Regions from separate parts of the Homo sapiens genome. Here region 1 is linked to region 2. The links are contacts of gene promoters, found by promoter capture Hi-C in blood cells and fetal thymus (Javierre and others, 2016). All regions are on one chromosome and are shown on one strand. Each heading gives the region's core, a stretch centred on a gene start or on the middle of the fragment in contact. The rest is flanking DNA. Distances are from core to core; before and after follow the strand shown. Region 1 overlaps LOC105375825 (a long non-coding RNA gene). Region 2 holds the start of CLXN (calaxin).

Region 1 (4,045 bases), core at 650-3,149, 87 kb before region 2:
TTGTCCCTGTCTTTCTCTGTGTGTGTTGTTTTGTCCTCTCTTAATGGAACGCTCTCTTTCTTTTCCAGTTCCTCCTCTCCCACATGCAGTTAAGCCAAGCATCACTTCTCATGTAGTTATGCTTTTGCTATTCCTAGATATTAGTGGAAGCAAAAGGACAAGAGGAGGAATAGATGGTAGAAACAGTATTTAAGAAGTATTGTGTCCCACCTGCATTTAAATTTTGGAAATAAAACCATATTTTAACAAGTTTGTCATTAAGAAGTCATGGAACCGGAGACAGAAAGCAACAGTCTGGGCTATGTTAGCATTATGGTGGAATCCACAAAACAAGATCCCATCCTCACCATTTTGACAGTGGCTCTGGTGTTCTGTCTTTTCCTAAACAGAAAGGAGATTAGGAGACAAGACAAAGACATGTCTGCAGGCCTCAAAGGAATAGAATTAGAACTCAGAGTCTCCAGGTCACACGTCTGAGTGTAACAAGCTCCCATCACTTCTAGCATGTCTTGTTGGAGATGTAGATGCATGACAAGCAACCCTATGATATCTGGGTTCTGTTCAGAGCTGAATCTTTAGTAAAAGTCACCCCTTATATTCTCTTTTCCCAGAATAAGCTTCACCTGGGGCTCCTCTCCAGCCTGCTCATGTGTTTGTCTTGATGCTGTGGGTCCCAGTCAACATTTCCCTTCACGTTGGTGCATCCTCTTTTGACCCCTAGCTTCCATCCTCTCATCTCCCTCAAGGATTCCCTCACAGCCTTGCAATGCGTGCATGTACCTGCCTGACCCTGGTTCAGCATGTGGCATTGTCTCCTCTTGACTTACGGTGCCTCGAGCCTCAGATAGACCTGAGATCAGTCTAAATAGGAAGCATCTTTCAAAGCAGGGTGTTAGCAACATCTTTGCTTCTATTCCCCACTCATACAAGAGCGCCCAACTCAGCCAGTGGCTCAGAAAGGGGATGTGGAGTCCTGTACCTGAGAAGGTGTCATTCTGCCAGAGGCCACCATGGAAGCACCTCCCAGGATGACTTTTTATTCCCCAGGCAGGTGCCCTGGATTGCCAAGCCACATGTGGGCAGAAGCAGCCTTTTCTCTGAGCTGTGAGGAGAGTCTGTGTGCATCCACTGCAGGAGGAGGACTTCCCCGCCTGGTTCACCAGAGGGTGGGTGAGGCGGATGCAGTGGGACCACCCGACATGTCTTGTCTCAGCCTCAGGCAAGAGGATATAGTCACTTTTCGAGACCACAGACATCTCAGTAATGACCCTTTTTCTTTTCTTAAGAATCCTCAAGTAGGCTTGTTTTCCTTTGTCACAATATCTTTCACATGCATTTTTATACAAAACATACCTAACAATTTCATGTGAAATGATTGAAGAACACCAGCTATATAAGCTTACTTACTTTCAAGGCTAAATGTGCGCAGCCAATGAGAAAAGTCTAGGAGGCACCAAAATCTGTTCTCACTGCTTTTCACTTGTTTTCAAGTCTTATTCTCAAATTACAAGTCTTCCAGGCCCATTTATTTTTAACATTTCTGAAATCAAGATTGACCTGGGAAATCACATGTTATCACTGCTTGAGAGAAAAGTAGGAGCTGTTCCCCGGCCCCTCTGTGATGAGTGATGGGCCGAGGGGTTTCTCTCAGGACACGTGTCTTTCACCTGGGCACCATCTCCCCGCTGTGGGAGGAGGCTCAGCCTCCTGTGGTGCATCCTCAGGTCCAGCAGCCAGCTCTGGTGTCAGGAAGCCTGTCCAGCTTTAGAGCAGGCTGAGAATGCTTAGCCTCCAGATCCAATCTGAAGTTCAAATCAGAGGCTGCTGGTGATCTTTGGTCTTGACTCTCAGGGTGCTCTGGAAGTGGCAGCCCTGATCACATCACGTTTACTGGGTGTTAGTCTGTCTTCACTTTTTTGTTTTGTTTTTGAAAATGGAGCTTGATCACCTTCTCTGAGCTGCTCTTCAGACTGGCCCCCAGGGCATGTCTGCCTGCAGAATAAACAGCCCAGGCAGCTGCAGTCCTGGACCCACCCTGACAGTGCCCATGGGCATCATCTGAGACCACATCACCTTCTGGAATGTGCGGCACCACCTCAAACCTTTCATGCAGGTGACCAGGGGTCCTGGCCTCCTGGGTGCACATTCCTTCATCCACGAAGAAGCAGGTCCAGATTTTCAGGTGGGTCTATCCCTGTTCTCCATGCCATAGCTTGCTCCTAGCCAAGCACCAAGAGAGCGGCATCTTTTACAAGCACCTCAGGTCATTGTGGTACCTGGGGATGAGCTCACCTTGGCGTTACAGGTGGGGGCCTCTTCCATCTGGGCCTTCATTTTCTTTAAAAAATATTTTTAATTTTTTTTCCTTGAAGAGTTAACACTCTTTACAATCAAGCTTCTGAAAAAAAATATAAAACATTAGAAGTAGGATTTTCCCCACAACAATAGTTACTTAATATACCTTTTCAACTTTTAAGATTTACTCTCTTATAATTAAAGATGGACATGGAGATGATGGTAGAAACAAATGAGATGGTTGACCAAGTCATCCCCCCTCCCCCACCCTTGTGCAAGTTTGAACAGATGGCCTGGAAGGGCTCAAGCGAATCTCTCAGCCCAGACAGCTTCCGTTTGCACCAGGACAAAACCTTAAGACCTTTCCTCCTCTGTCATGCTGCAATTGCCATGACCTCTCATAGGGTAGGTTTCTAGGTGTCCCTTCTAATAATCGCCTCCCATTTTTACTGGCATCTTTTTCTTTGAATTGTCTCTTGAACATTCTGCCACTGTGCTTTGTAAGACCCAGAAAACAAAGATACATTGTTGAGAAGTGCAGGGCTCTGAAGACCCAGAAGAGGAGACAGGGAGAGGCAGACTTTAGGAAAGGAAATCTACCTGGAGCAGAAGCGACAGAAGAGGGTGGGGACCTTCAAAACACAAACTAAGATGCATTCCATCAAATCCCCTTCCACGAACTTATTGACAAGGAGTCCTAAGTTGAAAAACTGCTTTTCAAACATTAATGATCATGGTAGAACACATAATAAACAACCAGGTGACTGGCCAGGAGCCACAGGGGAGAAAAGAAACCATTTTCATGACACTTTCAGTGTGGCTCAGCGACAAAAATGACACCTTGAGGTCCAGACCACGGTGCAAAGTGCAACTCAAGACTCCACATCTATCGGGGGCACAGCTTTTCAAAGGCTGCACTCTCCTCTTCCCGCTGTCTTTCTCTCGCCTTCTTTAATATTCCACAAAACTAATTATAATAATGACTTGGATCAAGTCATGCAAAACTTCATGATTCAAGTTCTACTTCCTGAATATAAACCCCTGCCTTGTGCAAGAAAAGAAGGAAATGGATACTCCTTCCCTTTGTTTAACTAATTCACCACCAATAAGTCAAGCAAAACCAAAACAGATTCAGTGTACAGAATATACTAAAAGGATACTGCCTCAAAAGTACAATCATCTTTAAGAGTATATTTTGAAGGAGATTGCCTCTGTTTTCATTTAAAATGCAAACTTGAATTCGAAAGAAAGGCCTAAGATAGAGAAGCACTGCCTAGAGTCCTGGGGAAGAAGCCATCCCAGGACTGGCACTAATCCGTTAGTGCTCCTCCCTGCCAGGCCCCTGTGCTGCTCTCCACCTTGGCTGAGCCCTGGGGCTGTGTCCTCATGCCACGCCCTGCAGTGCCTGCACGTCCTCTGTGCCTATGCTCAGAGCTCCCTGGATGTCTCTGGTTGCTAGTTGCTATTTCTGACATCCCCAACTCCAGCCTCTGCTACTCACCAAGGTCTCAGAGTTCCTCTGAAAACTGCCTACCTTCTGCTCTGGCCTGGAGTTTCCTCCAGTCCTTTCAGCAGCGAGGCCTGATGCTGGAGTCCAGCTCTGCCCAACTCTGTGACAGGCCTCGGTTTCCACATGTGTGAAACTGGACTAACACAAACTCACTGGACCTTGTGGGATTAAATACGTTGTACGGAAAACACCAAGAACAGAGACTTTTGGTAAATGTTCATTCCCTTTTTTCCTATGCCC
Region 2 (3,714 bases), core at 723-3,222:
CTTAAACTCGTGAAGGAATAACTAATTAGCTTACCTATAGCAAGCACCCGGTGTATGCGATCTCCCCAGGCCACCAGAAATAACCACCAATGTGCTCACCAACAGCGCAGGCCTGCTCCCCAACACAGGCCTAGTACATCAGGTGGGGAGCCCACAGCGTCTCTTAGTAATTACTGACAACCACTCTTTCGGTTCCTTGTCTCTTGAAGTGAGCAGTGCAGCAATCTCTAGGAATTAAGTATTTGCTACAGCTCTGTGATCCAACAGAAATCAATAAGGTGTCACAGGTAAGTATAATTCAAATATGTCCAGTCTTTCCCTTTTGTTCTCTATGGTCTCAGGAATTTCACTCTTCTAGACAAGGGGATATGTAGAAACACTATTTAAAAATACTACTGTTACAAACTCATAATCACCATCAATTCATATCGGGTAACTGTTGTTAGGACATTTGCTTTAGGATAACACAGTCCATGCCTTTACCAAGCACCCTTTGCTCTAGTTTCAAACAGCATCCCAATCCTTCATTCCACAAACAAATGAAACAGTAAAGAAAAACCAGAGGCCTCGACATTGGAATTATTTCATTTGGGATTATTACTCATGGTTAGTAGAATTTTTCTGCCTTCAGTCTAAAAATGCCAGTATGTGTACAATAACATAGTTTGTCATTTTCCCCTCTGAAGTTAAACGAGCAGGCACTCTGGAGAATACTGTAGATTTGGTGATCCTGGCTGAGCCACCCCTTTTTATTGCTGCCTTAGCTGAAAGAGGATATCCCCTCTGTGATCAGGAAAAGCAGAAAGTCCTCCCACCCTGAAGATGTAAGGAATATCCTTTGTCTGCCGGCACAGAACTTGTCTTTCAAATAAGTAAAGGACCAAGGTTGCTGAGATATTTTCCGGAAAAGCAAGATTGGGCTGTACCCCACACCCAAGTGGTGTTGTCAGCCCGTTTTCATTGGGGGGAATGCCTATTTAAGCAGTATAAAAATTCCTCGTGGCTTTCCTCAGATTCCACAGACAACCTCCATCTTTTGGAAGTGAGATGAGGGCAGTGGGAAAAGAAAAAAACTACAGTCACAAGCCACATAGCGCCATTTAAGTCAACATCAGACAACATTAGGACAGTGGTCCCATAAGATGTAACACTGTACTGGAACACTGCACCTTCCCCAGAGTGCTTAGCACTCTGTTTTAGCTGCCTGCAGCATTCCGCGCTGTGACCTGCTGTGCAGGGGTGCAGCCCAGAAGCAATGGGTTGTACCATACAGCCTGGCGTGCAGTAGGCAAGGCCATCTAGGTTTGTGTCGGTGCACCGTGATGTGCACACAGTGATGAAATCTCCTAGTGACCTCGGAACGCGTCCCGCTCCTTAGGCAACCCGTGGCTGTATTCCAATTTCCCCTTGCTCTCAGAAACACAACTAAAAGCTCGAAGACCTCAGGTGACAGACTGCCTCCTGTTACCTCACCAAGACTGAAAACCTAAGCAGTGGCTCCGCCCAAAGAGCAAGCTTCTAGCCCTCTGACGGGAGGCCCGGCAAGATCGTCCTCTGGACAGCACCTTGCTATTTTGTGACGCTGCTCCAGCCCCCAAGATGTCCAAGATCTTGGGCCTTCCCTTGAGGCGTGACGCTCACGACCCGAAACACCTCTCATACAGCGTGCACACCACATTTCAGATTTTAATGATTTACACTGCAATCAAGCAAAGAGGCTGCGAACTCAAAAGCCAGCAACAACTGAACATTTAAACTCCAACGTCAACAGTCAGAATACAGCCCTCAAGGCGGCCAGCTGGGACCCTGCCGGCGGCACCGCGCACCGAGAACCCAGCGCGAGCAGTCGCTGAGCCGATGGGCGGGGCCCAGCTGTAGCTTTGGCTACGTCGCGGGCAGCCTGGGAGCCAATCCGCGGCGGGCTGAGCCGTTGCCTTGGCTACACCGTCTGTTAGGGCCGCGCACGAGATCAGTAACTGAGACCTCACCGCGTTGACCCAGCACCAGGGCTCGCGGGGGTCCCGCGAGGGTCTCGGTAGCCGCGCGCCCAGAGACCCCCGCCGCGGCCCGATTCTCTGAGCGCCAGACATGAACCGCAAGAAACTGCAGAAGCTGACGGACACCTTAACCAAAAATTGCAAGCATTGTAAGTAAGAATGTAGTGCTGGACAGGCCGAGGCTCCTGGACCGAGCCTGGGTCCCACCCCGTGCTAAGGTCCGCTGTTGTGCCTGCTTCCCGCCTGCTGGGACTCTGTGGGCTACCTACCGCCCCTCCACCCCGGCCCCTTAAGCAGAAGTCAGAGAGGGAATCCCGGGGTGCCAGCTCCTTGCGTTTGATCTTAGGAACCCAGGCCTCCGCCTCTGGTGCTACCTACACTCCCACACATGCATTTACTTGCTTCTCCAACCCTCTTCTTTTACCTGATAGAAACATGTGATGTTAGCCTCAATGAGGTGTAAAATAAATGCTAAAACCAACTGGTCTCAAGAAAAGTAGCACCACCAAGGTAGACCGTGCACTCACCCTGCTTTATAGCTCGCACATACACCCGCAGGTCCAAGTTCTGGAAGCTTACCAAGAGACCCATAGGAGAAAACGGTGCTCAACTTCTCAACATCTTTCGGAGAGATGAGTTGTGTCATCTCATCTGTGCCTCAGAACAATATTTGTTTGGAAACCAGAGTTCAGCACAACTAAACACGTGGTAAAGAATGGGTTCCCAACTTTAGACTCCCACTTTCCAGTGGCCCCTGGTGTTGAAAGATAAAGGAGACTTTGCAGGTGACAAGATGAGCCCTATTTGAAGGCACCTGCTCTAATCTCGCATTTGAAAGGGTGGTCCTAGAATTTCATAGGAAACTTTGAGTTTATATTCAGACTGAAAAACATAATTGCACTTTAGCAAGGAAGCCGTGGGTATGGTTTAGATGAGGAAGATAATTTCCTGTCGAGCAAACTTAGAAGTTGTGTGTGCTAATTGCAAAACTACTGGCCACTTGAAGAAACAGAAGCAACAATCCCCCAAATAACCGAGTCGCTCAAAAAAGAAGGAATAAACATGTTGATGTAGTTTTAGAGATTGTAAGATCTAGTGCATTCTAATTATCATTAGTATCTGATTTAATACCTGGTAAGAAATGCTCTCTTAGTGGATGGTGATATAAATGAATATTATGGTGTGTGTACGCATCTTAAAATGTTTAGGAAAAAAATCCTGTAATTTAAGATATTATTATGACTACTATACTCTGATGAGGGTTTTGTTCTGTTATTGTTTTTCTTAAAACACTTTCATTTCTGGGAGAATAGGTATTCTTCTAGTAAACATCTAGTAAACATTTTTGATAAATATTCAAAAACAATGCAATAGCTGCTATACACAATACTGATTTTGTCCCTTTCCGTAAGTTTGAATTTGATTTAGTCTCTGTTCGGTAAGTTTGAATGCATTGCAGACAATCATTCTGTGAACAATCAAAAGGTGAGTGTATATTTTTAAAGGTAAGTAAAAATATGGCAGGAAAAAGTCTGCTCTTGATTTTTTTGTTTACTAAAAAATTTTCAATGAGTCTTACAAACTTAGATGATTATTAGTTAAAGTCTATAGAAATAGTTATACGTCATGGACATTATAATAATTTTAAATTTTCTTTAACGGAAGAACTTTCCCCTAAAGTTAAATTTTGTTTTAGTTGCAAGACAATAAAGCTATC

The links. Contacts are between HindIII fragments. The CHiCAGO score rates a contact against its expected background, and 5 or more counts as called.
Region 1: a contact is called between a fragment that was not itself captured here and the fragment with the promoter of CLXN in region 2, in 2 of 17 cell types (M0 macrophages and M2 macrophages). The highest score is 5.9, in M0 macrophages.

Annotation. Positions count from the first base shown.
Region 1 is chr8:48,819,852-48,823,896 of GRCh38, reverse strand. LOC105375825 (a long non-coding RNA gene) reads right to left here. Exons shown (of 5, transcript XR_928859.3): 5 at 1-2,398. Among named protein-coding and RNA genes, the nearest start is that of CLXN, 87 kb to the right of the region's middle. RefSeq lists an enhancer at 3,908-4,045. The HindIII fragment of the contact is 997 bases long and covers 1,401-2,397 here.
Region 2 is chr8:48,733,526-48,737,239 of GRCh38, reverse strand. CLXN (calaxin) reads left to right here and starts at 1,972. Exons shown (of 6, transcript NM_024593.4): 1 at 1,972-2,146. The coding sequence starts at 2,089. RefSeq lists an enhancer at 1,893-2,567. The HindIII fragment of the contact is 1,056 bases long and covers 1,518-2,573 here.